5 separate regions of the Homo sapiens genome follow, and regions 1, 3, 4 and 5 are each linked to region 2. The links are contacts of gene promoters, found by promoter capture Hi-C in blood cells and fetal thymus (Javierre and others, 2016). All regions are on one chromosome and are shown on one strand. Each heading gives the region's core, a stretch centred on a gene start or on the middle of the fragment in contact. The rest is flanking DNA. Distances are from core to core; before and after follow the strand shown. Region 1 overlaps GAB2 (GRB2 associated binding protein 2). Region 2 holds the start of ALG8 (ALG8 alpha-1,3-glucosyltransferase). Region 3 overlaps GAB2 (GRB2 associated binding protein 2). Region 4 overlaps GAB2 (GRB2 associated binding protein 2). Region 5 overlaps INTS4 (integrator complex subunit 4).

Evidence for each region. The method cuts DNA at HindIII sites, captures the fragments that hold promoters and counts their contacts. A CHiCAGO score of 5 or more calls a contact.
Region 1: a contact is called between a fragment that was not itself captured here and the fragment with the promoter of ALG8 in region 2, in 1 of 17 cell types (activated CD4 T cells). The highest score is 5.2, in activated CD4 T cells.
Region 3: a contact is called between a fragment that was not itself captured here and the fragment with the promoter of ALG8 in region 2, in 4 of 17 cell types (activated CD4 T cells, naive CD4 T cells, non-activated CD4 T cells and 1 more). The highest score is 6.1, in activated CD4 T cells.
Region 4: a fragment that was not itself captured here is called in contact with the fragment with the promoter of ALG8 in region 2 in 3 of 17 cell types (activated CD4 T cells, monocytes and naive CD4 T cells); the score reaches 6.4 in activated CD4 T cells.
Region 5: a contact is called between a fragment that was not itself captured here and the fragment with the promoter of ALG8 in region 2, in 1 of 17 cell types (naive CD4 T cells). The highest score is 6.0, in naive CD4 T cells.

Annotation. Positions count from the first base shown.
Region 1 is chr11:78,285,013-78,287,712 of GRCh38, forward strand. All of the region lies in intron 1 of GAB2 (GRB2 associated binding protein 2), which reads right to left. Among named protein-coding and RNA genes, the nearest start is that of USP35, 97 kb to the left of the region's middle. The HindIII fragment of the contact is 641 bases long and covers 988-1,628 here.
Region 2 is chr11:78,138,362-78,141,061 of GRCh38, forward strand. ALG8 (ALG8 alpha-1,3-glucosyltransferase) reads right to left here and starts at 1,265. Exons shown (of 13, transcript NM_024079.5): 1 at 1,133-1,265. The coding sequence starts at 1,227. KCTD21-AS1 (KCTD21 antisense RNA 1) reads left to right here and starts at 1,432. Exons shown (of 3, transcript NR_102281.1): 1 at 1,432-1,711. RefSeq lists enhancers at 848-957, 1,038-1,117, 1,728-1,837, 1,998-2,700. The HindIII fragment of the contact is 5,506 bases long and covers 996-2,700 here.
Region 3 is chr11:78,346,179-78,348,878 of GRCh38, forward strand. All of the region lies in intron 1 of GAB2 (GRB2 associated binding protein 2), which reads right to left. Among named protein-coding and RNA genes, the nearest start is that of GAB2, 70 kb to the right of the region's middle. The HindIII fragment of the contact is 575 bases long and covers 1,008-1,582 here.
Region 4 is chr11:78,378,830-78,381,529 of GRCh38, forward strand. All of the region lies in intron 1 of GAB2 (GRB2 associated binding protein 2), which reads right to left. Among named protein-coding and RNA genes, the nearest start is that of GAB2, 38 kb to the right of the region's middle. The HindIII fragment of the contact is 1,586 bases long and covers 636-2,221 here.
Region 5 is chr11:77,986,578-77,989,277 of GRCh38, forward strand. All of the region lies in intron 2 of INTS4 (integrator complex subunit 4), which reads right to left. Among named protein-coding and RNA genes, the nearest start is that of INTS4, 6.7 kb to the right of the region's middle. The HindIII fragment of the contact is 1,128 bases long and covers 751-1,878 here.

The sequences.
Region 1 (2,700 bases), core at 58-2,557, 150 kb after region 2:
TGAGAAAAATAAAAATAAGTACTATTTATTTATAGTAATTTAAAATCTTAACCCGGTCACTGCTTTCAGAATTATGCATGTACTTCTGTGTGCTGCAGGTTCACACATAGACACATAGTGTGTGGGCACCAAGGTGCATTTTAAAAAGATCTGTTTCTAGTTCAGCTGGCATTTCAGTTGATGTGTCCCCGTTAGTCTTGTCTCTGTGGAAAGAGCTGTCCCCAAATCTCTGGTATGCAGGTGCAAGCACAAAAAACACAGACACCCTCATGAACAAGAAAACCATGTTTGCTACAGATAATATCAGAGCCTGTCAGGTTTTGCTTCCAAGTAAGTGGTGTAGGCTGATAAATGGCTGCCTACAAAATACTGATATATTTATGACAGAGTCAGCAAGGCTGTCTAGTCTAGTCCCAAATTCACACATCCCTCTTCCACCACAACACCTTCTCTCCACTTCCAGGTTTTATTTATTTATATATATTTTTAGAGTACCCAGGCTGGTGTGCAGTGGCATCATCTCGTTCACTGCAACTTCCACCTCCCAGGTTCAGGCGATTCTCCCGCCTCCGCCTCTCTTCAGTAAATGGGATTACAGGCGTGTGCCACTATGCCCAGCTAATTTTGTATTTTTAGTAGAGACGGGGTTTCACCATGTTGGTCAGGCTGGTATTGAACTCCTAACCTTAATTGATCCACCCACCTCAGCCTCCCAAAGTGCTGGGATTACAGGCGTGAGCCACGGCATGGGGCCCCATGTGTTTTTAAAAAGCCAAACAATTCAGAACCAAGTACAAACAACTCTAAGTGTCTGGCCTCAGTGACAACTTCCCTGATCCATTCATCTGAAGTGGACCTCTATTTCCTCGGAACCTTCATAATGCTTTTTATGTTCTTTTCAAGGCATGTCAGTTTTTACAACAATCATGAGTGTTTTTGTACTTGTCTCTTCCCAACTAGGACATGAACAAAATTCTTTATTGCCAAAGCTTTCTTACCGCTCTCACCTCAATTATGTTTCCTTCCTCCATCGCTCTTTCCCTCCTTTGTTTCCTTACATCCAACAAATATTTATTCAGTGCTTACTATGCTCTAGGTATTATTCTAATGCTGAGGATACAGCATGAATTCCTCGTCTCACAGAATTTACAGGAGCACTAAAAATTACCTATTATTCTCCAAATAGTAAGTCATGTAATTTCATGACTTTATGTCTTTGCACAAGCTATGGCTTCTGCCTAGAAAGGCTTTCACCTTACCTCATCCATCTGGAGAATTTCTATGTTCTCTCAGTGCCAGCACAAATGTCACTTCTCCTGGAAGGCCTTTATTGACTCCCCCAGGTAGAGCTGGAGGTGCTTCTGCTTGTTTTCCCTTACTAACCTGTGCTTACCCCACGCTGGCATTTCTTTCCCCGGGTTTGACATTTCTACTCCCTGCTTTGGCATTTCTAATGCTTATATGTCTTTCTCCCCTTTAAGTTCTGAGCATCCTGAGATTAAGGTCCAATGTGGCCAAAAACTACATGGCAGAGTGCTTAACACATATAGGAGCTCAGGGAAGATCTGTTGATTTTTTTTCATTCCATGAATATGTTAATTTGTTCAAATTAATAAAACTTATACGTAAGCTTTCACAGTAGGAAGTAGAAAAGAAGGACAGCAAGAGGATTACAGAAAAAAGAATAAGATAAAGATGTGTAATAGATTCTCTATGGTGTGAGTTATTTGGCACCTTGTTCCCTTCATTCTGATAAGTGCAGTATCCATGTAATAAATATTTATAAGGGGGGTCTGGGAGCTTCACCTGAAAAGTAACCCATGATACAAAAATGAAAAATTGCTGTTGGATTACTGACACATAATGCAAGGAGAATACGGGACATGAGTCCTGAATATGCTATTAAAGAGAAAGCTTTTTCAGGACTGTTCTAACGTCTATATAAAATCTCATACAAAAATTAACTCAAAATGGATTATGGACTTACACATAAAATACAAATAGAATTCAGCAATCTATAAAAACACATGACCAAATGGAATTTATTCCAAGGAGGTAAGGCTGATTCCATATTTGAAATCCGTCATCTACCATATTAATAGGCTGAAGAAAAACTGCATGATCATATCTTTCAATGCAAAAAATATTTGATAAAATTAAACACTCATTCTTGATAAAAACTCTCAGAAAAACAGGAACAGAGGGGAGCTTCTTCAACTTGAAAAAGAGCAGCAACAAAAGACCACTATCAAATGTTATACTTAGTTTTTTTTGGTTGTTTGCTGAGGCAGGGTCTCACTCTGTCACTCAGGTTGGAATGCAGAGGCATGAACATGGCTCACTGCAGCCTCAACCTCCTGGCTCAAGTGAATCTCCCACCTCAGCCTCCTGAGTGGCTGAGATCACAGGTGCATGCCACTATGCCTGGCTAATTTCTAAATTTTTGTAGAGATGGGGGTCTCACTATTTTTCCCAGGCTGTTCTTAAACTCCTGGGCTCAAGTAATCTTCCTGCCTTGGCCTCCCAAAATGCTGTGATTACAAGTGTGAACCAGCAAACCTGGCCTATACTTAGATTTGAGAGACTGAATCCTCTTTCCTAAGATCAGGAATAAGGCAAGGACATTTGCTCTTATCATTTTTTTTTTTTTTTTTGAGACAGAGTCTTACTCTGTTGCTCAGGGTGGAGTGCAGTGGCACA
Region 2 (2,700 bases), core at 15-2,514:
AAAATAACAAACAAAAAAAACAACTCTGAGGATACATTTCTAGCCTGAGGCAACTAAAGCAAGAAATAATCTTATGCACAGACCTACAGTTAATCATTTTACTGAATCTACATATACATTCCACTTACATGATTACATATACGCATCAGTATGGACTTACATTCTATACATATGACTCTCCCATATTCAACAAGAGATCACCAAGAGCCTGAATCAAAGGATACCAATAAAACAAACCCTAAACTAGGAAGTGGGAGGGAAAGGAGAAAAGGGATGAGGGAGAAAAAGAAAAAAGAGGAAGGATGAAGGGAAGGCGGAAGCCAATATTAATAAATACTGAGTACCTACTGTATACACACCACCATTTCATGGTTGCTTCTTGGTTTCCACGCTTTCAGTCTTGGCCCTACATCCATTTTTTACACAGCAGTCTAACTGTGGTCTTCGAAACCCTGTGTTATCTGTCCCCAGTGCACCCCATGCTGTGCCACTCCTCTCCCTCAATGCTCTGCAGCCACAAGGGGCACTTTCTGTTCCTAGAATGCTCTGACTTCTTTCCTGCCACAGGGCCTTTGAACTTACTCTTTCCTATGCCTGAACTGCTTTCCACATCACTTATTCTTTTTCATTTTTTGAATTTCAACTCAAACATCACCTTCTAAAGGAATAGCGCACAGCCACTTAGTAACCCTCTATTTCCTTTATCACAATCTGAAAAGTTCCTGTTTGTCTAGCTCCACCCACCAACTTCGAGGGCAAGGACCAGCAATGTCTTGCTCACCACCGCATCTCCCGGGAGTTAGAACGGTACCTGGCACCTCAGGCATCTGATAATACTGGCTGAATGGCTGTTGGAGGCAGAGGTTCTTAACTGCCTATTAAGGATGAGGACCCTGAGGTTCAGAAACGTTAAAGTGATTTGTTCCAAATCAGACAGCGCCAGGTCTGAACCTAGCCAGCTGGGGCTAAGTCAAGTAACAACTGGCGAAACAGAAAGCTTAGCAAAGGCAGGATAGCGACAAACACGACCTAAAGTTTTCTCTTCATACCCAGGGATATCCACACCTTTCTCTCCCGCCCTGACCGACCGCGGGGCCTCCCCGCCCAGCCCCTGGCCGTGCGAGTCCCTTACTATGTGGGGATGAGAAGGCATTTGAGAAGAGTCACCCCGAGCGCCAAAGCCGAAAACCAATTGCCAGTACCCGTGGCAATTGTGAGCGCCGCCATTGCTGCGGCACCGCACGCTTCCCACCAACTTGATCCACATCCGGGATCCCGCGCATGCGGAGAAAGCCCTCTGAAGCCGTGCCCGCTAGCTGCGCGCATGCGGCGAGCGGCGCAGCCAGTCCGGGGACTGCAGTCAGCTATTTAAACCTCCCGCCCACCTTTTCTTTAGACCCGCGTCTCACCCCGGGCCGGAAGGGCTCCTGCGCAGGCGTTTGTAGCCACTTTTAAGTTTTATCAGCTAGTTCATGCTTGCGTTGAAAGAGTGGTCGTTTGCGCTGGGTCATCACTGTGTAGTATTGGGGATACTTAGGTGAGAAAAAAACTTAACGCTAGAGACGTTCACGCACTAGTGGAGAAGCCAGGATTGTTGCCCTAGAGTTACAGTAGATAAAAGTACCTCAGAGAACTGCGGGGGCTCCCAACCTGGACGCTTGCACCGGAGTATTAAATCCAGCTAGAGAATGGCATGTGCAAAGATACAGAGGTGAGAAACATTGTGTTTTTAGAACTCTGAGCGAGGCTCTTGGCTCACCTCCTGCTTGAGCGGAACCCATTCTGGAAGCAGGGTAGAGGCTAGTCCTAACGCTTAGTGTACAAATAGCCTACGGTTCATGTTAAAATAATTCGGATTCTGATTCAGTAGGCCCAACAAACTCGCAGATTGCGTAATGACTGAGGCACATGCAATTTAATTAGGCTTGTCTCATTATTTTACTGTATGATCTTGGACAAACTAAACTCTAAACCTCAGTTTCTTTTTTTAAAATTTTTATTTATTTATTTATTTTTGAAAATAGGAGATAAAAATGGTTTCTGGCCGGACGCGGTGGCTCACGCCTGTAATCCCAACACTGGGAGGCCGAGGTGGGCGAATCACCTGAGTTCAGGAGTTTGAGATCAGCCTGGCCAATATGGTGAAACCCTGTCTCTACTAAAAATTAAAAAAAAATTAGCCGTGCATGGTGGCGGGCGCTTGTAATTCCACCTACTCGGGAGGCTGAAGCTAGAGAATCGCGTGAACGTGGGAGGCGGAGGTTGCAGTGAGCTGAGATCGCGCCATTGCACTTCAGCCTGGGCAAGCCTCAGGCCTGTTTATCCAAGATGCTTTTGGTCTAAAAAAAAAAAAGTTTCAGCCTCATAAACTGGTTGTGAGGATTAAATGAGAATGCATGTAAATTGCTTGATATGATTCCAGGACAGAATAAATGCTCAATAATGTGTCAGATCAGTTAATTATCTTGCTGAAAGATGCACAGCAAGTAGGTGACAGTGTCACCTCCCTAATATGAGTTTATGCCCTCCCACAGCTTCAGCTGCCACCCATGTGAATATGATTCACAGATTTCTAGCTCAGCACTCTTCTCTCACTTTCAGACCCTGGTCTCCAGTTGGCTACCTGACCTCACGTAGATGTTTTTGTTTTGTTTTTGAGAGACAGGGTCTCATTCTGTGGCCCAGGCTGGAGGGCAATAG
Region 3 (2,700 bases), core at 45-2,544, 210 kb after region 2:
CATGTCTGGACTTTGAAATCAAACTGCCCGGATTAGCCAAAGTGAAAGGAATAAATCTGTTAAGGCACCTTAAATAGGGCTCCATATTCAAAACATACCCTTTATAAGCTTCCAACACCCCCTTATTCAGACTTTTTATGAGTATCATCTCACATCCTTACTCTTCAGAAAGAGATCTAATAAAAGAACAGGAGGAAATAATATAAGCACACACATGTGCCAGAAACTGAGTAACAAACCCATAAAGTACTTGTTATTCCCATTTTACAGAATAGGAAATCGAACTTCATAGAGACTGGGTGATTTGCTAGCTATGTAAATACTGGAGCTGGGATTCAAATGTAGGTACTTCTCACTTTAAAGCTCCATATTCTTCCCACCTACATCATGCTGCCTGAGAAGAGAAGAGAAGAGAAGAGAAAGGAGAATTTACCAAATCTACATTAATGAGAAGCAAGAACAGAGAGGTATGGGCTGTTCTGTTTACATCCCCTCCATATATATATATATATATATATATATATATATATATATATATATATAATTTTTTTTTTTTTTAGGAAAAGAAACAAAATATTCCTGCTAGGTAAGACTCAGAGACTCTTTCAAGATGACAAAAGTGAATAGCCTCAAATAGACCTTTCTTTTTAGAGGGGGGCATTAAGTATCAGAGCCAGGGGAGCTCTCTCATGATTCTGTCATGGCTCAAGGAAAATTTTAAGAAAAATACTGTTTACCTAGTATGACCAGAGCATCTAAGAGAATCCAGAAGGAGTGGTGAGGCAGAGAAAGGGAGGGAAAGCAGACTGACTCACTATTTGTTTTCCAAAAATAAAAAATCAAACCAAACATAGCAGGAATGAACCATCCAACTGGGTGATCTAAGGATTAACTGTCCATGTGGCCAAACGTTTAATTTAATCTTTCTGATGGACCAGCTATAAAAGAGAAGAAGAGCTCAGTATAAGACTCCTTATCAAGAGGGCACCAAAAAAAGTTGTATTTAAAGCTTTTGAGATACAGACCTAAGCAAATGGCTTGATATGAAACCCCTGGTTCTAGTTTCCAACATGCTTGCTGTGGCCAACTTCATAAGGTTGGGTTTGGAGATATGAATGTCCTCCGAGTGTCAACTACCATCTCACATTTTTATATCCTCCTCATAGGGTACAGCTGGGCGTTTTTATATGGGTCCAAACTGACATTGAAAACAATGCCAACATAATAAGGTAGAAAGAACATGGGCTTTGGAGTTGGGCAATCATGGACTTGAGCCTTGGTTGTACGATTTGAACAAGTTAATACTTCTGAGACTTCTTTTCTTCATCATTAAAATAAGGATAATTATCTTAGAACATTTATTTCTTGAGAAATAAAGTTCCTGATACATAATAGACACTTACCTAAAAGATAATCCCCATGTTAACCCTTGCTTCACACCATATACAAACATTAACTTGAACTGGATTATAGACCTAAATGTAAAAGCTAAAACATCTCCTACAAGAAAACATAGGAGAAAAATCTTTGTGACCTTTAAGTAAACAAAAAGCATAAATCATAAAAGAAAAACTGAAAACTAAGCTTCATCAAAATTCAAAGCTTTTGTTCCTCAAATGATACAATTAAGAGAAGGAAAGGGCATGACACAAACTGGGAGAACATACAGTTGAACCTTGAACAACATGGGGGTTAGGGGATGGCTCCCTCCCATGCAGTCAAAAATCCATGTACAACTTTTGACTCCCCTGAAACTTAACTACTATAAACAGTGGAATAACACATACTTAGTATGTTATATATTATATATTGCATTTTTACAGTAAAGATAGAGAAAAAAATCATAAGGAAGATTAAAATGTATTTAGTATTGATTAAGTGGAAGTGGATCATCATAAAGGTCTTTATCTTCATCTTGACATTGAGTAGGCTGAGGAGAAAGAGGAAAAGAAGAGGTTAGACTTGCTGTCTCAGCAGTGACAGAAGCAGAAGAGGTAGAAGGGGAGGAAGGGGAGGCAGGAGAGGCAAGCACACTCAGTGTCACTTTTACTGAAAAGAATCCAAGTATAAATGGACCCATGCAGTTCAAGCCCATTTTGTTCAAGGATCAGTTGTATTCACATGTTTTCACAGATTGAAGGAAATGTTTAATATATTTCTATCTTACAAAGAACTGGTATCCAGATCATAAAAGGAACTTGTACAACTCAGTAAGAAGATAAATGACACAATTTTTTAAATGGGCAAAAGATTTGAACAGATACTAGACAAAAGAAGATAGTATACAAAATGCCAGTTGGCACATGGTGCTCAACATCACTAGACATCAGGGAAACAAATGAAAACCACAATGAATACCATGACCTATAAACCCATTAGAATGACTAAAATTAAAAAGGCTGATCACACTAAGTGCTTCTGAGATTGTAAAGCAACTGGAAATCACATACACTGTTGATAGGAAAGTAAAACAATACAGTTTGGAAGTTTCTCAAAAAGTTTAACACGTATCTACCATATGACTGAGCCATTCAACTGCTGGGTATACCTGGGAGAAATGAAAATGTATGCTCCACAGAAAGATTTCCAAGTGAATGTTCATATCAGCTTTATTTAAAAGAGCCAGAAACAAGAAAGAACCCAATGTCCATCAATAGGTGGTATATCCACACAATGGAATACTACTCAGCAATAACATGG
Region 4 (2,700 bases), core at 179-2,678, 240 kb after region 2:
AGGCCTTATATCCACTTACCATACCAACTAGAATACACTCAGACTATACCTGCTTAGATCACATGCCCAATCCAAAATAATCATGGTGGCTGAGGGAATGCAATGTGCTAACTAGCCAAACCTGAAGCTTAGGATAGATGGAGCCAGCTTCCCCAGAATCACACAGATGTCTGAACACAAATTAAGGTGTTGCAAGGAAGGAGAAAGGAGATGAATTTAAGAGAAGCAATCAATAAGTGTTCGTTACATACAAGGAAAATTGGAATCAAGTTATTAAGATCATCCAGCTCTCTGAACCATCTGATCAGTAACTCCTCCTGTTCACATTACTTCCTGTTGTGACCTCACGCTTCTTCAGACTAATTTAAGACTGTGGTTCTCCAGAGGCTTCAGCTATTCTCCACAGAGAAGCTAGCTGATTTGTCATGACTTCTAATCACTCATCCTGAGTACCAAATTGAAATGCTGATTTGGCAAGATTATTAAAAGATCTCAAGGCACTTTCCAGAACATAAAAGACTTGGTTAAAAGTAAGTATCTCTTGAGTCAATTAAAATGTCCTTGGCTGTCTTTCTTGCCTTGGTTTCCTCCTTAGTAAGTGTAAATTCAAAATAACAGGGAAATAGATAAGGTAAAGCTTCTTTTTAGGAAAGGGTTTTCTCACACAGTTGACCGACAAGACAGATTTCCTACTGGCTGGACTGATAACAGTGAGCAAATGGGTCCTGATACCTTCACCATCCTATGATTTTCAACAAGCTACTATATTTCATTAATTCAAATTCAGTTCTATTTTAACATCAAAATCAGAATGTTTCCTACTGTTGAGAGTGTCTTACAGTTAAGCTGCAGTCAGGACACAGCTGTCATTGCCTGCACAAGAGTGTACTTGGTTGTCATGTCTGTCATTGTGACTGAACAAATACAACCCTGAACAAATAAATCAAGGGCCATTTTAAGGAGAAACATGAATTTCAGTAGTTGTGAGACTTTTTGCTAAGATCTTCTAGTAAGACCAAGAAAGTGCCAAAGTTGAAACTTGCAAAATACGTGTCAGTAACCTGAAAGAAAAATTTGAAGACAATGTTGAATCATTTTTAAGAAATGTTGCACCATCAATACTCTTGATGGCATGCAGGGCAGTTATTATGTAGGCAAATATGGACAATGAATTAAAAAGTGATTGAAAGCTAGAATTGATTATGAAGTAGTTTTAGAAATTTCTTTACCAATGTTTCATTTATACTTTTCTTTTTTGTGTATGCAAGAGAGTGCCGGACTATAAATCCATGTCCGCATAAGTCTACAAGCACTCTTTCAATAAGGTATTTATTCCCCTGCTTAGTGGAATATAAAATAATTGTGAATGACATTGAATGAGAACTTTTTTTTTTTTTGAGACGAAGTCTCGCTCTGTCGCCAGGCTGAAATGCAGTGGTGTGATCTCAGCTCACTGCAACCTCCGCCTCCCGGGTTCAAGTGATTCTGCCTCAGCCTCCCAAGTAGCTGGGACTACAGGTGCGTGCCACCATGCCCAGCTAATTTTTGTATTTTTAGTAGAGACAGGGGTTTCACCACGTTGGCCAGGATGGTCTCAATCTCTTGACCGCGTGATCCGCCTGCCTCGGCCTCCCAAAGTGCTGGGATTACAGGAATGAGAACATTTCTAAGGCCTCATTTGAAAATTGGGATGACAAAGACTCCCTAATAGCTGTAGAATAAAATGCAAATAAAACACAGCATTCAAAGGCCTCTATAACATTGCCTAAATCTACATTTTCCACTCTTGTCTCCTATCACACTTCCAAGTCCACTACACACTGTGAAATTAAATAATTCAAACTGAAAGCTATTGGAACTTTAAATTATTCGGAGCCTTGGGAGGAATGTGGCTATGCAGCCTGAGTCACATGTCATGCAGCTGCAACTTCTGCCCCCATTCCCCACCCCCAAACCCCCCACCCCGTAATTAAGACCAAATGGCGCCAGAGATAAGACCATCTCAGAACGTTGTCCCTCCTCATGGAGTAATCTTCCTTGGAATGTAGGAATCTGTAACCAGTCAAATCACTGTAACGTATGCACTGGTCTTGTATGGGAAATGTTGTAATCCTGTTAAAATTTCTGTGTCTCTGCCTATGTAAGTGAAACCTTATCTTCTCTACTTTGAAACTCTGACCCCATTCATTTGGAGTCAGTGTCTCCCAGGTGGCCATACTTAAGCTTTGTACTCAAATAGACTCTACTTAATCGTATTTTCTGAATCTCACTATTTAAGGTTGACAATACCAAATTATACACATTATTCCTTGAAGATCACCTGCTCCTTTTCACTTCTGTGCCTTTAAGTTGTTTCTTCCACTGAAAATGTCCCATCTCCCATCCATCTCATTTACTAGAAGGTGGTCTTGAATAGCTTCTTTAATCTCTCAATTCCTCACTTTTCTTATCTTTGAAATGGGAATCTAACTTTAGGTTTGATTTGAGGATTTAATGAGCTAATACATATAAAGCACTTAACACAGACTCCAACTAACCTGTGGTCAAGCAGTATTTATCTGTGTCTTGAGAGATGAGTCTCAAAAAAGTAGTGAACTAGCCAAGGGCACACAGCTTATTTAACAGCTAAGGCAGAGTAAGAACTTAGACCTCCTCACTCCCAGTACAGAGCTGTCTTTAGATTTAAGAAATGGCTCTTCC
Region 5 (2,700 bases), core at 65-2,564, 150 kb before region 2:
GAAGTAACCCAAATGTCCACCAACGATAGACTGGATTAAGAAAATGTGGCACATATACACCATGGAATACTATGCAGCCATAAAAAAGGATGCGTTCATGTCCTTCGCAGGGAAATGGATGAAGCTGAAAACCATCCTTCTCAGCAAACTATCACAAGGACAGAAAACCAAACACCGCATGTTCTCACTCATAGGTGGGAATTGAACAGTGAGAACACTTGGACACAGGGCGGGAAACATCACACACCGGGGCCTGTTGGGGAGTGGGGGGCTGGGGGAGGGATAGCATTAGGAGAAATACCTAAAGTAAATGATGAGTTAATGGGTGCAGCAAGCCAACATGGCACATGTATACACATGTAACAAACCTGCACGTTGTGCACATGTGCCCTAGAACCTAAAGTATAATAATAAAAAAAGAGTCTTCACCACTTAAAGATATAAATCAAAATTTATGATTAAAATAATATGATGCCAGGAATTTATTTTCATAAGAATCTGGTGGAGAAGGTGAGGGTAAAGAAGTAGAAGTGGATTGGGGAAGAGGGAAAATGAAACAAGTTTGGCCACAAAATGATAATTTTTGAAGCCAGGTAATGGGTACATGGGAATTAATTAAACTATTCTCTTTACTTACATAGTATATATCTGAAATGTTCCATAACAAAAGGTTTTTTAAAAAAAAAACCCAAGTTCAAATCCATACCTTCCATTTACTAGCTGGGTGACCTTGGATACTAAACAGCTCTAAGCTTAGTTCCATATCTGGAATTTAGAGATAACAATGGTGCTGTCACCAGGATTAAATAAAATATTACATATGGAAAGTGCTTTCAAACTCTAACAAGCAATATAATGTTAACTGCTCTAAGAAGTATTATTATAGATGATTATTGGTAACAGATCTTTAATATAATAATAATGGTAGATATTGCTAAGAAAAAGACTAACGGAAAATAGATCACTGAGAGATCGAAAACTTCTTGAGAACAGAAATCCTGATTTTGGTCAGATGTGGTAGCTCACGTCTGTAATCCCAATCCTTTGGGAGGGCCAAGCAGGAGGGTTGCTTGAGCTCAGGAATTCGCGACCAGCCTGGGCAACACAGAGAGACTCCATCTCTACAAAAAAAATTAAAAAGAAAAAATTAGCCGGGAGTGGTGGCATGTGCCTGTGGTCCCAGCTCCTCAGGAGGCTGAGGTGGGAGGATGGCTTGAGCCTGGGAGTCCAGACTTCAGTGGGCAGTGATCACGCCATTGCACTCTAGATTGGGCAACAGAGCAACACTCAAAAAGATGCCAGGCACAGTGGTTCATGCCTGTAATCCCAGCACTTTGGGAGGCTGAGGTAGGTGAATCGCTTGAGCCCAGGAGTTTGAGACCAACCTTGGTAACATGGTGAAACCTCATCTCTATCAAAAATATAAAAATTAGCCAGTCTCATAACCCAGTCTCTAGATAGATAGATACGATTTTTTAAAAAATTTTTTAAAGAAAAGAACAACAAAAAAAGAAAGCCTGATTTTATTCACGTAAAACATAAGTGAAACATTTATAATGTCCCTTCAATGTTCCTAGGAACCTGCCAGGCACTGGGATAGAGACTAATGGATCTGCAGCCTCTGAATTTACGGAGCTCAAAGTCTGAAGGAGATAGACACATATGGCAAACAATTGCAACGCATAAGACTTAACAATTGTGCTAATGGACACCGTCCAGTGCCCAGAACAAAGTCTGATATATATTTGTTGAGTAAAATGTATCACAAAAGCATCAATTAATTCATTTATTCATTCAACAAATATTTATTTTACCAGGCACTGTTCTTGATTCTGTAGAAACAACAATTAAAAAACATAAAAATCCCTGCTCAAGGGAAGCTTATGTTCCTGCATGGGGAAATGGACAAGGAACATAATTAACAAGAAATTATACAGAATATTAGAAGATGGTAATTACTATGGAGAAAACAAAATCAAGGAAGGGGACTAGGAAGTGCGGGGTGGGGATAGGCAGTTTCGATATGAAACAGAAGGGTAAAGGAAGACCTCAATGTAACGGTGACATTTGCATGCTGATAGCTGCAATATGAAGTACAAGTCACCATTTATAACATAGTCTTAAAATTGTCAAAAATATGCTTAACTTAAATCTAACAAAGCCTATAGATCTAACTTTCAGTTCATAGTAAATACAGAGAACAGAGGAACAAGTTAATCCTTAAAGAAGTAAATGAATTCAGAAAACAAGACATTTTACAAAAGAACTGTCTCAGTTTCTTCATCAAATCAATGTCACCAAAATAGTAACTGTTGTAGATTTTTGAAAAGACTGAATGCCATGTGGGGACCTGGTTTGCATTTTGATTTGAATACATCAACTATAAAAAGGTACTGGGAGAACAACTACAGAAATCTAAATATCAACTAATTCTTAGATGACATTAAAGAATTACTTAACTTTATTCATTAGGGTTAGGTGGCTATGTTAAAAAATAAAAAGTCCCTCTACTTTCTCATAGCAGTGAGAAAAAAAAAGAAAACAACAAAAAGGTATCCCTTTTTAATAGATATGTAATGAAATAATTAGAAAAAAATGACATATCTTTTTAAAAATTCAACAAAACAAGGCTGGGCGCGGTGGCTCACACCTGTAATCCCAGCACTTTGGGAGGCCGAGGCAGGTGGATCACCCGAGGTC